Linked DNA regions of Homo sapiens: region 1 is linked to region 2. The links are contacts of gene promoters, found by promoter capture Hi-C in blood cells and fetal thymus (Javierre and others, 2016). All regions are on one chromosome and are shown on one strand. The core of a region is centred on a gene start or on the middle of the fragment in contact, and the rest is flanking DNA. Distances in the headings are between cores, read along the strand shown. Region 1 overlaps TEX11 (testis expressed 11). Region 2 holds the start of DLG3 (discs large MAGUK scaffold protein 3).

Region 1 (4,127 bases), core at 453-2,952, 93 kb after region 2:
ACAGAGGTATACATAATTAATTAATAAGACCAAAGTCATACAGCTAATAAATGGTGTAGCCAGAATTTATTTGAACTGGTTATGTGGCTCCAAAGTCTGTTCTCTTAACCACTATGCTATAACGCCCCTCAGTTTAAAAATAAGGACGTAACTTTGCTTTTTAAATTGTCCCAATACCATTTTACCAATTGTTCCCTCAGTGATGTGATATACCTTTTCCATTGCATACAAAATTCTCATAGATATGTGGATCTCCTTCTGGGCTCAGTCCTGTTCTATTAATCTCTTTGTAGATTTTTGCACTAATGCCATACTTTTAAAATTAATATCATTTTATAGTTTTAAAAGTATTTGATAAGGCAAGTCCTTCCTTGTTCTTTTACAAAAAATGTTTTGGTTCATTTTCTTTTAGGGAAGAATTTTAGAATCATCAAGTTTCATTAAAAATCCTATTGAGATTTTAATTTTGACTGAATTTATTGCATTGAATTTAGGGAAACTGACTTTATACTGTTAGGGCTTTCCTGTCCAAGAACATGGTATATATTTCCATTTGTTTGAGACTTATGCATTCTTGAAAGCAGAATGGAACCATCTGTAGGCAGAGAGTAAAAATGATGGACAGGCAGTAAAATGCCTCAGGAAGTAGAAGGGGATTGAACTGACAGTGCAAGGTTGAGAAAATTTCTTTTGAAAAAAGAGGAAAGGTGAGTAGGTAGGTACAGTGGTAGAATGTTATGGTTGAGACATGGGCCAATGAGGGATCTCATATGTGATGCCCTTGATCTTCTCAACTGAAATGATATGATGAGATCATCTAATGGGGAATGAGGTAGGTCTAAGTTTTTACGAGATTAGAAAAGGTTTGAAGCAGCCACTTTACTTGAGTTTGCCAAAAAGTTGACAAGAATAAAAGAATTTCTGAGCAGCAATGAGAACCCACTGAAAGCTTAACAGAATGAATCTGTACTGGGCCAGATCTAGATGGTTCTGTAACTTTCTTTAGTGCTTCTGCTGCTCAAGATCAGGAGCAGAAGAACTGATGGTGGCAAGGTACCAGGTTTGGAAAAAAATGAAACAGCAGGAATAATCAAAAGAAGAGAGAAAGAGAGAAGGAAGGGGAGGAAAGAAGGGAGGGAAGAAGGAAGGAAGCAAATAAAGAAATAAAGAAAAGAGAAAGAAAGAAAGGAAAAGAAAGAGAAAAAGAAAAAAAAGGTAGTTAGACTGGACTATAATAGAGTGGGAAAAGACGAGTGATTTGAAGTTCAAGTGAGAACAGAGAATAGATATGGGGAAGTAAGGGAGATTAGACTCAATAGAAAAGTGTTGCGTTAGTTACCAATCTTGAAGATGGAGCAGTGCCACAGTGGGTGGCTTATATGGGAGGTAGACAGTGGCTAAAAAGTGAAAAACGGAAACTGTGAGGTACAAGAATTGCTAACATGGATGCCAAAGTCACTTAGGATAATAAATAACAATGAAGTTACCAAGGAAGGAAAAGGTGGGTCCAGGACATGACAACATTGGTGATGAAGAGATATAGGTTTTAAGTGAAGAGAAGCCGTAGGAAGGTGGTATATAAATAGTACAAAGTGCCACCATGGAGCAAAGATCCAGGTAATTTAGTCCCTTCTGCTGAGAAAAAGGGAGTTGGAAAAGATGAGACCTCCATAAAAATTCGTAGTGAGGGACACGTTTTCTTCAGGGAAGATTCTGCTTTGTTCTAAGAAGAAGGGAGAGAAGGAGGTGAAGGTTGATGATAAAGAGAATATTGACTATTGCCTGGGAAAAACTCTGTCTTGTTTTGGGGGTTGAATGAGGTTATGGATAGATAGCCTTAAGGGTCTAGGTAAGGATTTGGGAAATACAGAGTTGTTAAAAGATTTGAGGGAAAGGGAGTGATAGAGCAAAAGTTGTGTTTTACGGAGATATATTTGATAGGGATGAACAGGAAAAAATGGAGAAGAGAAGAAAGAGCCAGAGACCAATTAGGAAACTACAAAGCTGTAGGAGAGACACAATATCAAAGTCTGACTCAAAGATGGCTTTGTATGAACCTCAATTCCAGTCTCAGGGAGACGTGAGGCTTGGAAGGAGGAAGATTTAGATGAAAGAAGGCTGGGTGCAGGGGCTCACACCTGTAATCCCAGCACTTTGAGAGGACATGGCAGGAGGATTGCTTGAGCCCAGGAATTTGAGACCAGCCTGGGCAACATAGTAAGACCTCCTCTCAATTAAAAAAATTTTATTAAAAAATAGATGAAAGAAAACCCAAGGACCATTGTCCTATGAAGAAATAACACGGCTGCAATTTTTAGCTTTGCCATTATATAGTGGTATGACCTTGTGTCAGATATTTAACCTTTCAATGCCTCAATTTGCAAAATAATGAGCTTAAATTAGGTAACTGCAAAGATCATTAGTTTCCAGTTCTAAATTTTCTCAGTCATTGAATGAAGCTTTACCTTATATTTCCTTTAGATCCCAATTGCCTAATCTATGAACTTATATAAGATTGGCAGAAGTAGGAACTGAGATGAAATTGAACAAGTAGAAGGCCAAACAAGAGACAAAAGATACTGATAAATGACCTTCTCAAACTTTAATGTGCATACAAGACACTTGGAAATATATATATATATATATATTTTTTTTTTTTTTAAGATGGAGTCTCACTCTGTTGCCCAAGCTGGAGTGCAGTGGTGTGATCTTGGCTCATTGCAATCTCCGCCTCCTAGGTTCAAGCAATTCTTCGGCCTCAGCCTCCCAAGTAGCTGGGATTACAGGCGCCTACCACCACGCCCGGCTAACTTTTGTAATTTTAGTAGAGACAGGGTTTCACCATGATGGCCAGGCTGGTTTTGAACTCTGACCTCAAGTAATCCATCCGCCTCGGCCTCCCAAAGTGCTAGGATTACAGGCATGAGCCACCGTGCCCGGCCGGAAGTATAGTTAAAACGCAGACTGATTCAGTAGGTCTGGGGCCTAAGATTCCATGCTTCTAACAAGCTCCTAGGGGATGCTGATCACGCTTTGGGAAGCAAACTCTTAGAGAATGTAGCTCAGTAGTTTGAATCACCTTAGCTTCCCTTGTAAAAGGAAAGAGTCTGTGTTCTTCTGGGCTTCTTGGTTACAAAACGCCTTTGTGACTCTGTGACTCTGACATCAGCTGTGAGGATTAGGTTTGTCCCTTCTCTTTAAGTGTAGGTTTCCCCCCCACCATTATTTAAGTCTTTGTATATTCTTAAAAATGAACCAAGAAATTTCCACTTCCATGAGATGGAATAAATGTACTTATCCCTATTCTTCCTGCTAAATAAAACTAACTCTTGAACATTATACATAAAACAAACATAAGAAACCTCTGAAAGGTGTAGAGAAAGGGAAGACCTTGGAGCCAAGGATTGACACAGTGATAAGTTCTCTGGGTTTTCTTTTTGCTTCATATACCCCAAACTTGGTGCTAGAGATGCCAACAGACATAGACCCAAAAAGAAAAAGAAAGAAAAAAGCCCCAAGAAAAGTCTGCTGTCTCTAGCCAAGGGACCAGTAGTAAAAAGGAGTCCTCTACCTTGAGTATCAATGATGGAGGTCAAGTTAGAAACTTAGGCTTGTTTCTACTTCTACCTGGAAGTAACAAGGCTGGGCCCACTCCCTTGCTAAAGCAGGTCAGAGAAACCAAGTTAAAACAGAAGGTTTAAATGAGATCCAGAGTCTCAGAACAAAATATGAAATTGTCCAGGTTTAACAAATTTACTCATTATACCAATAATCAGGAAGATCTCAAATAACGAAAAAAGACAATGAATTGATGCCAACACTGAGATGACAGAAATGTTACGATACCTGACAAAGATTCTTTTCTATGACTTAAAAAATGGGGTAAAATACATATAGCACAAAATTTAACCATCTTAATCATTTTAAGTGAACAGTTTAGTGGCGTTAAGTACATTCACATTGTTGTGCTATCATCACTACCATCCATCTCCAGAACCAGTTTCATCTTGCAAAGCTAAAGATCTGTACCCATTATGTAATAACCCCAGTCCTTGGTGACTACCACTTTACTTTCTTTTTTTTTCAATTGTTTATTAAATAATTTTTTTTATTATGGAGATAATTAA
Region 2 (4,047 bases), core at 941-3,440:
AAAAATTTGTCAAGTAGTTGATAATCATACAAATGCACAATAAACTATGAGGTAAGAAAGTGCTCATCGAGCTCACCATATTCGTGATTGTTTGCTTTTGAACTGCATGGTGGTAGGGAGGTGCTCCTTACAATTTTCGCTTTGCATACATTTATTCCTTGATTCAACCCACCACCACTTCCACTGCTGTCACTCACTGGTTCACCAAAGGTTAGGTAATTATTTACTTGTTTTCATTAATCTTTCTATATGTATGCATAGCTCATATTTATTTCAATGTTCAATATCAGAAGTGTTTTGGGTCTTTATTTGGAAGCTGGGTGATGTTTTGTGACCAGAAATATGCTGTAGGAACTTAGCTCTTGTTTATATTAATTAGCCTGTGGTAAAATTGGTTTTGTTATACGTTGTTTCACTTAGTCCCAGTTGCCAAGGACCTACCAATGATGTTAAATGAGGACCTACTGTACTACATAATTCACTTATTTATTGTGTTTATTTTTGTCTGTGTCCTCTCACTAGGAGGTAAGCTCCCCAAGGGCAGGGATTTGTTCTGTTTGTTCTGTTTTATTTTGTTTCCTGCTATATCCCCAAATCCTACAACAGTGTCTGGCACACAGCAAGTGTTCCACGCATATTTGTTGAATTAAGAATGAATCTCTGAGGGCCGGGCACAGTGGATCACACCTGCAATCCCAGCACTTTGGGAGGCCAAGGTGGGTGGATCACTTGACGTCGGGAGTTCGAGACCAGCCTGGCCAACGTGATGAAACCCCATCTCTACTAAGAAAATACAAAAATTAGCCGGGCGTGGTGGCAGGAGCCTGTAGTCCTAGCTACTAGGGAGACTGAGAGGCAGGAGAATCGTTTGAACCTGGGAAGCTGAGGTTGCAGTGAGCTGAGATCACGCCACTGCACTCCAGCCTGGGTGACAGAATGAGAATCCATCTCAAAAAAAAAAAAAAAAAAAAAAAAGAACCTCTGTATCCCTAATACCTAGGTCAAGGTCTTGCACAGAGCAGGTGCTCAATGAATATTTGCTGAATTGAACTGAGATGTAAATTCTGCAGGAGAACTTAGAATAGACCTGTCGTACTAGAGTGGTTCACAGCGTGGACTCTGGAGTCAAATAATCAGGATTTGCATCCTGATTCTGTCACTTCCAGCTGTGTTACCTAGCTGTGTTAACATCTTTGAGCCTCAATTTCTCATTGGTAAAATGAAGATAATAATAGCATCAGCTTGGTAGGATTTGGGTTTGCGTGTTATGCACTTAGGACTTTGTAAAGACCCAATAATTGGTAGCTAAAAACAAAACAAGAACTGCAAAAAAGATAGTCTTTCTTGTATGTCATCCTTCCTCCATTCCCCCGACAAGCTGAGCCAGGAGAGGGTAAGGAGATGTCCTTGGACAAGTATTCCTAAGCTCTATTCCAGACCCATAGAAGGGTTTCTCTCTCTTCAAATCCCTTCTTACCTTTTCACCTGTCCTGGACTTTCATCTTGATATCCTGAAGTTCCTTCCCCCATCATAACCATGCAGGGGTGGAGTGGAGGAGATAGGGGTTTGTGGGCCAGGGACAAGGACTTAGAGCTTTCTGTTAATCCCTGTTCTAGGGTTGAGTTCTTTACTGGTGATGGTAGAAGGTCAAGTGTGAGGTCACAGTAATTTCAGGGCCTAGAGACTGAGAGAACAATAGTCTTGTGTAGGAGGCATTGACAGGACAGCGGGCCTCATATGCTGCCTTCTTCTTTGGTCCCCTGTAAGAGAAAGCACCTCCCTCACCCTGCTCCAACGTCCTTTCTGTCCATCCTGCTACCTCGTCTTTACTTCTGGTGGCCCCAGCTCAGAGCAAGCCTGGGGACCCATTGAACATCTCCCTGCAACTCCCTCTTGGAAGTGGGGTGGGGTGGAGTGGGCAGAGGACAGGCTAAAACTGGCGATATAAGGGCACAAGATCGGGTGCCTGAGCTTTCTGGTGGCCCACGTCCTCTGCCCCCGCCCTTAGAGCCAACAGTTCCCTAGAGATTGGGGGAGCTGGGGCTGAGCCTGGGGGCGCCGCTGCCTCTGTTCCTTTAAGTAGCCGCTGTTTAGCATTCCTGCCGCCGCCGCTGCCGCTGCCGCTGCCTGCCTCTGCGCGCTGATTGGCTGGAATCAACTGAGAAGGGAGCCAGGGAGAGATGCTCTTGACTCCACTCAGATCCATCCTGGGGACCAGAGCAGAAGCGGTCCTCACAGCACCCATTCTCTGCTTGAGCTCCCGCTTCTTCTTTGCCGCTGGGCCTCGGCCCAGAAGCCACGACGGGCGACACGGAGCCGCCAGTGCTGGAGGGGGAGCCGTGGGTGCGGGGCAGCGTGGGGGCCGAGGCCCCGGGACGCCCGCCCGGCCCCAGGCCCCGCTCAGCCCGGGCGCCCCCACGGGTGCCCCCCCCTTCTTGGTCCGAGCAGTGTGAGTGTGCCAGGGAGCCCGGCGGCGGCGGCGGCGGTGGTGGCGGCGGTGGCGGCGGCGTGGAATCCGGCGTGGGCTGGGGGGTCCGAGCCGCGGGGGGCAGTGCCATGCACAAGCACCAGCACTGCTGTAAGTGCCCTGAGTGCTATGAGGTGACCCGCCTGGCCGCCCTGCGGCGCCTCGAGCCTCCGGGCTACGGCGACTGGCAAGTCCCCGACCCTTACGGGCCAGGTGGGGGCAACGGCGCCAGCGCGGGTTATGGGGGCTACAGCTCGCAGACCTTGCCCTCGCAGGCGGGGGCCACCCCCACCCCTCGCACCAAGGCCAAGCTCATCCCCACCGGCCGGGATGTGGGGCCGGTGCCTCCTAAGCCAGTCCCGGGCAAGAGCACCCCCAAACTCAACGGCAGCGGCCCCAGCTGGTGGCCAGAGTGCACCTGTACCAACCGGGACTGGTATGAGCAGGTATGGACCAGCGGAGGGGGGAGCGGTGGGGCAACCCAGGAGGGCTGGAGAGTGGGGGCCTAGAGGCCTGGGATGCAGTAGGGGTCGCTGGGGCTCCAAGCCTGTGGACCCCGAGCCCTAGCATTGCAGCTGGGCAAAGAGAGGCGGTGGGAAATGTGTGGTTCCCTGTGTGTGTCTGTTTGGGGGTCTCCATTAGAAGACTGGGAGGAGCCGTGTGTCAGGGGGTAAGGGCATGGCGGAGGGGCACATTTTCCTGTGTGGGGGAATTGGGTTTGTCTCAGTGTGGGGGTTTGGCAATGTCTCTGTGTCTGGCAGGGGGCGGGAGGTTCTGCGGGGGCTGTGTGTGGTGTGTGTCTCCACCGGAGGGGAGGGGAGGGGGCATGGTGCTCTGCGTAGGGGGGACATATGTGTGTGTATGTATGTTGGGGTGTGTGGAGGAAGGCAATGGAGCTGCCGTGAATCCGTGTGGAGGAGCCCATGTGCCCGGCTCGCTGAGCTTCATCCCTTGATGCCATGAGTCCCTCTCCGTCCCAGTCCCTTTGTGTGTGAATGTGCACATGGATGTGTGGAGATGTCACTCTGAATGTGGAGAGGTCTCTGTAGAGGAGGCTGCAGGGATGGCTGTGTTTGTGTGTGTGGCTACATGTATATGTGTGTGAGCATGTGGCTGCAAGAGTGTGCACGCGTGTGCCTGGTGTGTGTGTGTGAGTGTGTGTTTGTATGTGTTGTCTCTGGTGAGAGGCGCTTGACAGGCAAGGGAGGGGAGAGGAAGGAGGCGAGAGACATGTCCCAAGCAAGGCTGAGAGGCTGCTGAGAAGGACGGACTCTTTTGTCCAAGCAGCTCTGTAGTGTGTGTGCCGGGGTGGGGTGGCGGGGGGCGGGGGGAGATTTGAAGGAACTGAAGCAAGCCTCCTCGCTCTAGAGCAGGCATGGTGCCTGGAGCCGGCAAGGGGCAGCTGCCCTGGTGCAGAGACTGGCCCCAGTGGGGCATGTCCCCCTTGGGTACCTCCAGATGTGAGAGGGCTTAGCCCCCCAGCCCTGACTTGGCACAGCTTGGGAGCCCCTGGGTGCTGGGCACAACTCCGGCTTCCACTCCCAGCCTAAACTGCCAGCTTAGAAAATGGAAGGAGCAT

The links. The method cuts DNA at HindIII sites, captures the fragments that hold promoters and counts their contacts. A CHiCAGO score of 5 or more calls a contact.
Region 1: a fragment that was not itself captured here is called in contact with the fragment with the promoter of DLG3 in region 2 in 1 of 17 cell types (M2 macrophages); the score reaches 5.8 in M2 macrophages.

The regions. Positions count from the first base shown.
Region 1 is chrX:70,536,392-70,540,518 of GRCh38, forward strand. All of the region lies in intron 28 of TEX11 (testis expressed 11), which reads right to left. Among named protein-coding and RNA genes, the nearest start is that of DLG3-AS1, 82 kb to the left of the region's middle. The HindIII fragment of the contact is 1,510 bases long and covers 948-2,457 here.
Region 2 is chrX:70,442,645-70,446,691 of GRCh38, forward strand. DLG3 (discs large MAGUK scaffold protein 3) reads left to right here and starts at 2,191. Exons shown (of 19, transcript NM_021120.4): 1 at 2,191-2,914. The coding sequence starts at 2,558. RefSeq lists an enhancer at 1,709-2,495. The HindIII fragment of the contact is 21,076 bases long and covers 1-4,047 here.